2 separate regions of the Homo sapiens genome follow, and region 2 is linked to region 1. Evidence: promoter capture Hi-C in 16 types of primary human blood cells and fetal thymus (Javierre and others, 2016). All regions are on one chromosome and are shown on one strand. Each heading gives the region's core, a stretch centred on a gene start or on the middle of the fragment in contact. The rest is flanking DNA. Distances are from core to core; before and after follow the strand shown. Region 1 holds the start of GCAT (glycine C-acetyltransferase). Region 2 holds the start of CARD10 (caspase recruitment domain family member 10).

Region 1 (3,263 bases), core at 31-2,530:
GGCTGACTTCCACCTCCCAGTGGTGAGCAGTGGGGGCCCAAACCCAGTTTCCTTCTCATTTTTGTTAGTTTGCGCTTTCGGCCTCCCTATTTTCTTAGGGAAGGGGAGTGGGGTCCAAGTGACAGCTGGATGGGAGAAGCCATAGTTTCTCCCAGTCAGCTAGGATGTAGCCATTGGGGGATCTTTGTGGCTTCAGCAAATTCTCTTGTTAAACCGGAGTGAAAACTTCAGGGGAAGGGTGGGGAGTCAGCCAAGTGCCTCAGTGTGCCCTGTTGAAACTTAGGTTTTTCCACGCAATCGATGGATTGTGTCCTAGGAAGACTTTTCTTTTCCTCTGGATTTTTGTTCCTCCTGTACAAGAGGTGTCTTTGCTTGGTTTGGTGGGGCTGCGGCCACTTAAAACCTCCCGATCTCTTTTTGAGTCCTTTATTATAAGTAGTTGTAGCTGCGGGAGGGGGAGGGGGAGTGGGCGGGCAGTGGATAGTAAGACTTACTGCAGTCGATTTGGGATTTGCTAAGTAGTTTTACAGAGCTAGATCTGTGTGCATGTGTGTGTTTGTGTATATATACATATCTAGGGCTAGTACTTAGTTTCACACCCGGGAGCTGGGAGAAAAAACCTGTACAGTTGTCTTTCTCTTATTTTTAATAAAATAGAAAAATCGCGCACTTGCGCGTCCCCCCCCCACCCCCTTTTTTAAACAAGTGTTACTTGTGCCGGGAAAATTTTGCTGTCTTTGTAATTTTAAAACTTTAAAATAAATTGGAAAAGGGAGAAACTGAGCGGTGTATTTTTCCTCACTTTGAAGACTGGAGAATGAATGCGGAGCGGTTAGGCGGGCAGGCAGTGGGGACATCTGGGGCGTTTGCACCTGAGAATGGCGGGGGAGGGTTCAGGAGCTGGACAGAAGCCAGGAATCCTTAGTCCCGGAGGCTGCGGAACGTGCCTTAGCCGGCTTCTAGGCTTCTGCCTTTGGGGTCCAGAGGGTACCCCATTTCCGGCCGAGAGGTGAGTACGTGGGAATGCGGTGGGGAGTCTGGTGGGCTTGGCCCTGACGCGACTTCCTCCGCCCCCTTCCCTCCCCTCTGCCATCCGGACTTCGGCAGTCTCAACTTACAAGTCAAGCCTCTCGGTCCCTGGCGGATCCCGCCAGGCCCCGCCCACCCGTCCTAGGCCCGCCTCCCCGCCTTTTTAAGCGAGCCCCCCTAGCTCCGATTGGCTGCTGGAGCCCGGCCCCCGGCCACGCGACCAGGCTGCGTCCGCGATGCGCACGGCTCCCAGGCAGGCAGGCGCGCTCGGGCGAGGTAGGAGCGATGTGGCCTGGGAACGCCTGGCGCGCCGCACTCTTCTGGGTGCCCCGCGGCCGCCGCGCACAGTCAGCGCTGGCCCAGCTGCGTGGCATTCTGGAGGGGGAGCTGGAAGGCATCCGCGGAGCTGGCACTTGGAAGAGTGAGCGGGTCATCACGTCCCGTCAGGGGCCGCACATCCGCGTGGACGGCGTCTCCGGAGGTAACGCTCCGTTCCGGGAGTCGTTCCAAGACCTTTCCCGAGCTTGCGCTGGAATGGAGGTCCTGGAGGTGGGGGTGGGCGGCTCCTACACTCTTAGCTACTGTTCCCCTTCGCATCTCTCAGGGCGACTTTATGGCTTCCTAATATTGACTCTTGCCTGGTTAAACCCTTTTGACGGAGGGAGGCGATTTGCCCAGCAAGAAAACCCGCATTTCTTGAGCGGCTCCTTTGTGAAGGTCTCTACCAATTGTTGCTGCACGTGAACTCCTGCTAACTTCTAGACGCAGGAATGACTAATTCCACTTTACAAACGAAGAGGCTGAAATCCACAGATGTGAAATGGCTTGCCCAAAAGCCCCCAGCTAGCTGCAGGCAGCGCTGGAATATTGGAGCTGGAACATTGCCTGACTGGCCAGAGAGGACAGCTTGCTGGGTAAACTCATAGCAAGCAAGGGGTCCCAGGGCTGCCACAGAAATCACATGATGAGTTGGCCCTGCCAGGTCTCCCTCATTTCTTTCTTTCCTTTTTTTTTTCTGAGATGGAGTCTCGTCTTGCTCTGTCGCCCAGGCTGGAGTGCAGTGGCGAGATCTCGGTTCACTGCAACCTCTGCCTCCCGGGTTCAAGCGATTTTCATGCCTCAGCCTCCCAAGTAGCTGGGACTACAGGCACGTGCCAGCACACCCGGCTAATTTTTGTATTTTTAGTGGAGACTGGGTTTCACCATGTTGGCCAGGCTGGTCTCGAACTCCTGACCTCAAGTGATCCTCCCGCCTCAGCCTCCCAAAGTGTTGGGATTACAGGCGTGAGCCACCACTCCCAGCCCTCCCTCATTTCACTCTAACCAGTGGTTACACCTGACTTATTCGTGTCAGGCCTCAGGTGAGTGGTAATCATCAACAAGCTCCCAAAGCTGCCTTCTGCCCAGGAAATAGGCATAGAACCCTTGGTGCTGTTGCACTCATTTGTAAAACAGAGGTCCCAGGTAATCCCTTCTCTCCCTCAGGGGAAGCTTAGAGCCGGTCAAAAGATGGGAAATTAGGAGACCCAAGTTCTCATCCTGTTTTTGCCTTTCCCAGGCTGTGTGAACTTTCCCCTCTGGCTGTTTGCTCCTAAGGTCAGCTGTGTTCACTCTGGGCTTTAGAATTCGGGGACTGGTATCTCAGGCACCTACCTTTGGGGGTGTGATTCTGGCAGCAAAGTAAACTGTGGAGTTCCAGGACTGCAGCAGGCGTCTGATCCAGCCCTCTTCTTTAACCCTCAAGGAAACCAAGGGGTCAGATAAGGAGTCAGTGGTGGTCTTCAGGCACAGGAGAAGCCTGTGAGGAAGGGCTGAGTTCCTCCTTGGGTAGAATGTGATTCAAAGCCAGAGTTTAGGCTGGGCACAGTGGCTTGTGCCTGAAATCGTAGCACTTTGGGAGGCCAAGGCAGGAGGATTGCTTGAGGCTAGGAGTTCGAGACCAGCACGGACAACATAATGAGACCCCATCTCTACAAAAAATAAAAAAATTTAATCGGGCATGGTGGCACGCACCTGTAGTCCCAGCTACTCAGGAGGTTAAGTGGGAGGATTGCTTGAGCCTGGGAGGTTGGGGCTACAGTGAACCATGATTGCACCACTGTACTCCAACCTGGGCGACAGAGCTAGACCCTGTCTCAAAAAAAAAAAAGTTTAAACTTCTTGCTCTTCAAGATGTGTAGCACTGACGCTCCTTCTGTAGCTGTTGAATTTGGTGCCTCCTCAATGGTGACTCC
Region 2 (3,587 bases), core at 952-3,451, 290 kb before region 1:
ACAGTATGCAGTCACTTAAAACAAGTGTATGTAACAGAGGTGAAAGAATCACTAAAATCAGTTGTTCTAAGAAAAAGCAAAATACACACGTAGGCGTGTGTGCGTGTGTGTATGTGTTTGTGTTTTTTATATAAAAAAATTCAGCTAGGCGCAGTGGCTCACGCCTGTAATCCCAGCACTCTGGGAGGCCGAGGCAGGCGGATCACAAGGTCAGGAAATCAAGACCATCCTGGCCAACATGATGAAACCCCATCTCTATTAAAAATAAAAATACAAAAATTAGCAGGGCGTGGTGGCCCATGCCTGTAATCCCAGCTACTCGGGAGGCTGAGGCAGGAGAATCGCTTGAACCTGGGAGGCGGAGGTTGCAGTGAGCTGAGATCGCGCCACTGCACTCCAGCCTGGTGACAGAGCAAGACACTGTCTCAAAAAAAAAAAAATTCAAAGTCACCTGGAGCCTCTGTATTTTTTTACATAAAAAACTATACATCTGTGTATGTCAGACATATGTCTGAAAACAGTATCACGAAGAAAGAGCCATCTTAAGCATGTGGCTCTGAACTTGGAATAACGGCACTAGCACCCAGCCCCACCCTCAGCCTACCGTGGGGCCCTGGGCAAGCCCCTTCAGCCTCTCCATGCCTCAGTTTCCCTTACTGTTCAACAGGCATAGTGGGAGCGCCTCCCTAACAGGGATGGGGAAAGGAGCCTGTGCACTGGAGTCCGAGGTGCCAGCATCCACCGCAGATCCACTCACCGAGGATCATGGAGCAGCGCTGGGCGGGTTCCTGGCCCGTGAGCAGCGTGAAGTGTTCGGGGTAGTAGAACTCCAGGGCTTCCAGGAAGGCCTCATAGCCCCTCTTGCCACGGCAGCGCAAGATGTCCATCAGGCGCCCTACAGAGTAGTGGGGGGATGTACCCAGGGTCTAGGGGAAGGCCTCCCCAGGTGCCTGGTTGCTTCTGCCCCCACCATGCTCCAGGCCCACGTTCCCCAGATTTTTGAGCCAGTGACACACACAGGGGCCTGTCCCAACACATCAGGGAAGAGAAGAGAGCCATTCTGCCACAGCCAGGGGAGCACATTCCCTCATGACTCCTGGGCTCCCAGAGCTCCCCAACACCCCCCACAGACACAGATGCCGGCCCGCAAATGCAGCCTGCCTTTTCAATGGCACAGAGAAGCCCCCTCTATCCCCAGAAGCAAAGAAAATACTTCTCCCATTGGCCATGCCTGAAATTCCACCATTAAAGACCATTCCATCATGCCTTTTTGAGTTCTGGTTCAAAGGCACACCCTGTGGGAGTGGGGACCCACGTAAAGCTGAGACGGATCTTGACACTTGAAAAAGGACTCCCCCAGGAGTGTATGGTGCACAGAGGAGGGGACAGACAGAACTCGGAGATCAAAGAGCGCAGGAAAGGTGCCAAGTCCACCGGCTGTGACCGGGAGGTCCCAGGCCCAGCCGGCCCTGGCAGCCACATCCAACCTTCTGCTCTAATGTGGACCCAGGAAGTGGGAGAGAACCCCAAGAGACAAAACTCTGACCCCGGTGTGGGCAACGCGGACCGCCAAGGCGCAGTGGTGGGTGGGGAGGAGGCAGGCTGGTGGGCATACCCAGCCGGCCCACTCTACTGATGCGGAGACCGAGCCCCAGGGCAGCAGAGCCCTAGCTTCGCGCTACACGGCTGTGGGCGCTGCGCCCCAGGGCACGGCCGGCCCAGGTCGTGGCCCACTCGGGACCCGCGGCTCACCGGTGCGGTTGACGCGGCACGGGAAGCGGTAGGTGCTCAGCACCTCCTCCTCGTCCTGCTCGTCGATGACCCGGCACTGGCGCAGATACGGCGTGAGCTTGGCCGGGTTCAGGGCGCGAGCCAGCCGATGCCGGACGCCCTCGATTCGCTCCCACAGCGCGTCCTCCTCCGCCTCAGACCCCGAGCCGGCCCCGGCCTCCTCCTCGGCCTCCCCCGCCTCCGCCCGGCCCGGCATGGCCGTGTCCTCAGGGTCTGCGGGCAAGAGGCGCACGGGGGTCGACCAGGGCTCCCTAGGGCTAGATGTGCGGCCAAGCACCCCCGGGGCGTCGTCCGCAGACCCGCCGTCGGGGGCGCGCCCCGAGCTCCCCGCGACTCACCCCGCACGCTACAGTCGCCTCGGGCTCCCGGGTCCGCACTCGGGCGGCGGCTCCGCCGGCGCAGGGGGGCGGTGCCCGTGGCGCCCCCGGCTCCGCCCCCGTCCCCGCAGCCTCCTGGGCTGCCCGGGCCTCCCCACATTGCCGCCCGCCCCGGGTCGTGCGTCCGGCCCCCGGCCACCCCGCGCGTCCGTCTGCACGCCCTCCCTCCCGGCCGTCCGGCTGCGCCTCCCCCTGCTTCCTGTTTCCCGCCGGCTCTCCAGCCCGGCTCGGCGGGGTCCTGGCCGCCCGCCCACACCTGCCCGGCCTCTGGGCGGGGCGGGGGCGGGCAGGCGCGCTCACACCCCCCGCGCGCCGCGACACACCTTCCCCGGGCCACGCGCATCGCCTCCCCACGCCCACAGCGCGCCCGCCCGTGCGGGGCTAGCCGCTCACGCCCGGCGCAGCCCGCGGGCACTCAAGCTGGGCTTGCCCTTCTCGGGTCCCCACATGCACTGCGGGCGCGGGAGCTTCCCTGGAGCGCAGGACAGCCCCGCGGGGGACAGCAATGGGCAGAGGTCATGGGGGCTTTCTGCAAGATGGGGGTCTGAACCTGCAGGGCAGCACTGCCAACTCCCCTCTTACGCAAACTCCCGTGGCACTTGAGGACCAGGGACCCCACAATTCTCAAAGGGTATTCCTCCAGGTGTTGGTCCCAGAGATGCTGGGGGCGGGCTGTGACTAGCCATCCATACTCCCGCTCCTGCCTGGGAGGCCGGTGGTGTCTTACCATGATACTGGCCGAGTCTACACGGTATCTGCTGGTGCATGCGATACAGTCTCGCTATGCATTAGAAGCTGCCAGGTACCTGCTGCCAGGGAGGAACAGAGGAGGCACAACCGGTACAGGAAAGAGGTGTGAGCTCCCTAATCGCCTTCCACAACTTCTGAATTAGATGCCGTGGACATATGTATTACTTATCCAAAGAATTAAGGTTTCAATCAATAAAGGCTCTGAAAAGCCCTGCTTAAATTAAGGCCGGGGGCGGTGGCTCATGCCTGGAATCCCGACACTTTGGGAGACCGAGGCGAGTGGATCACCTGAGGTCAGGAGTTCGAGACCAGCCTGACCAATATGGCGAAACCCCATCTCTACTAAAAATATAAAAATTAGCTAGACGTGGTAGTGCGCGTCTGTAATCCCAGCTACTCGGGAGGCTGAGGCACGAGAATCGCTTGAACCCAGGAGGCGGAGGTTGCAGTGATATCGTGCCACTGCACTCCAGCAGCCCGGGCAACAGAATGAGACTCCCCCTCAAAAAAAAAAAAAAAAAAAAAAAAAGCCCCAGCAGTAAAGAAACAGATTTAACTTTATATATCCTGGTGTCCTTTTCCAAACTTAATTAACCACAGCCTTTTTTTGGTTTGCATTTGTTGTACATTTGTTTTTGTTTTGGGTGTCACCTGTTTACATGCAGAAGA

What was found. The method cuts DNA at HindIII sites, captures the fragments that hold promoters and counts their contacts. A CHiCAGO score of 5 or more calls a contact.
Region 2: a contact is called between the fragment with the promoter of CARD10 here and the fragment with the promoter of GCAT in region 1, in 2 of 17 cell types (neutrophils and M1 macrophages). The highest score is 6.6, in neutrophils.

Annotation. Positions count from the first base shown.
Region 1 is chr22:37,806,654-37,809,916 of GRCh38, forward strand. It overlaps GCAT (glycine C-acetyltransferase), which reads left to right and starts at 1,281. Exons shown (of 9, transcript NM_014291.4): 1 at 1,281-1,510. The coding sequence starts at 1,315. H1-0 (H1.0 linker histone) reads left to right here. Exons shown (of 1, transcript NM_005318.4): 1 at 1-779. RefSeq lists a silencer at 1,096-1,385. The HindIII fragment of the contact is 19,611 bases long and covers 1-2,518 here.
Region 2 is chr22:37,517,214-37,520,800 of GRCh38, forward strand. CARD10 (caspase recruitment domain family member 10) reads right to left here and starts at 2,202. Exons shown (of 20, transcript NM_014550.4): 1 at 1,753-2,202; 2 at 758-895. The coding sequence starts at 1,987. The HindIII fragment of the contact is 26,549 bases long and covers 1-3,587 here.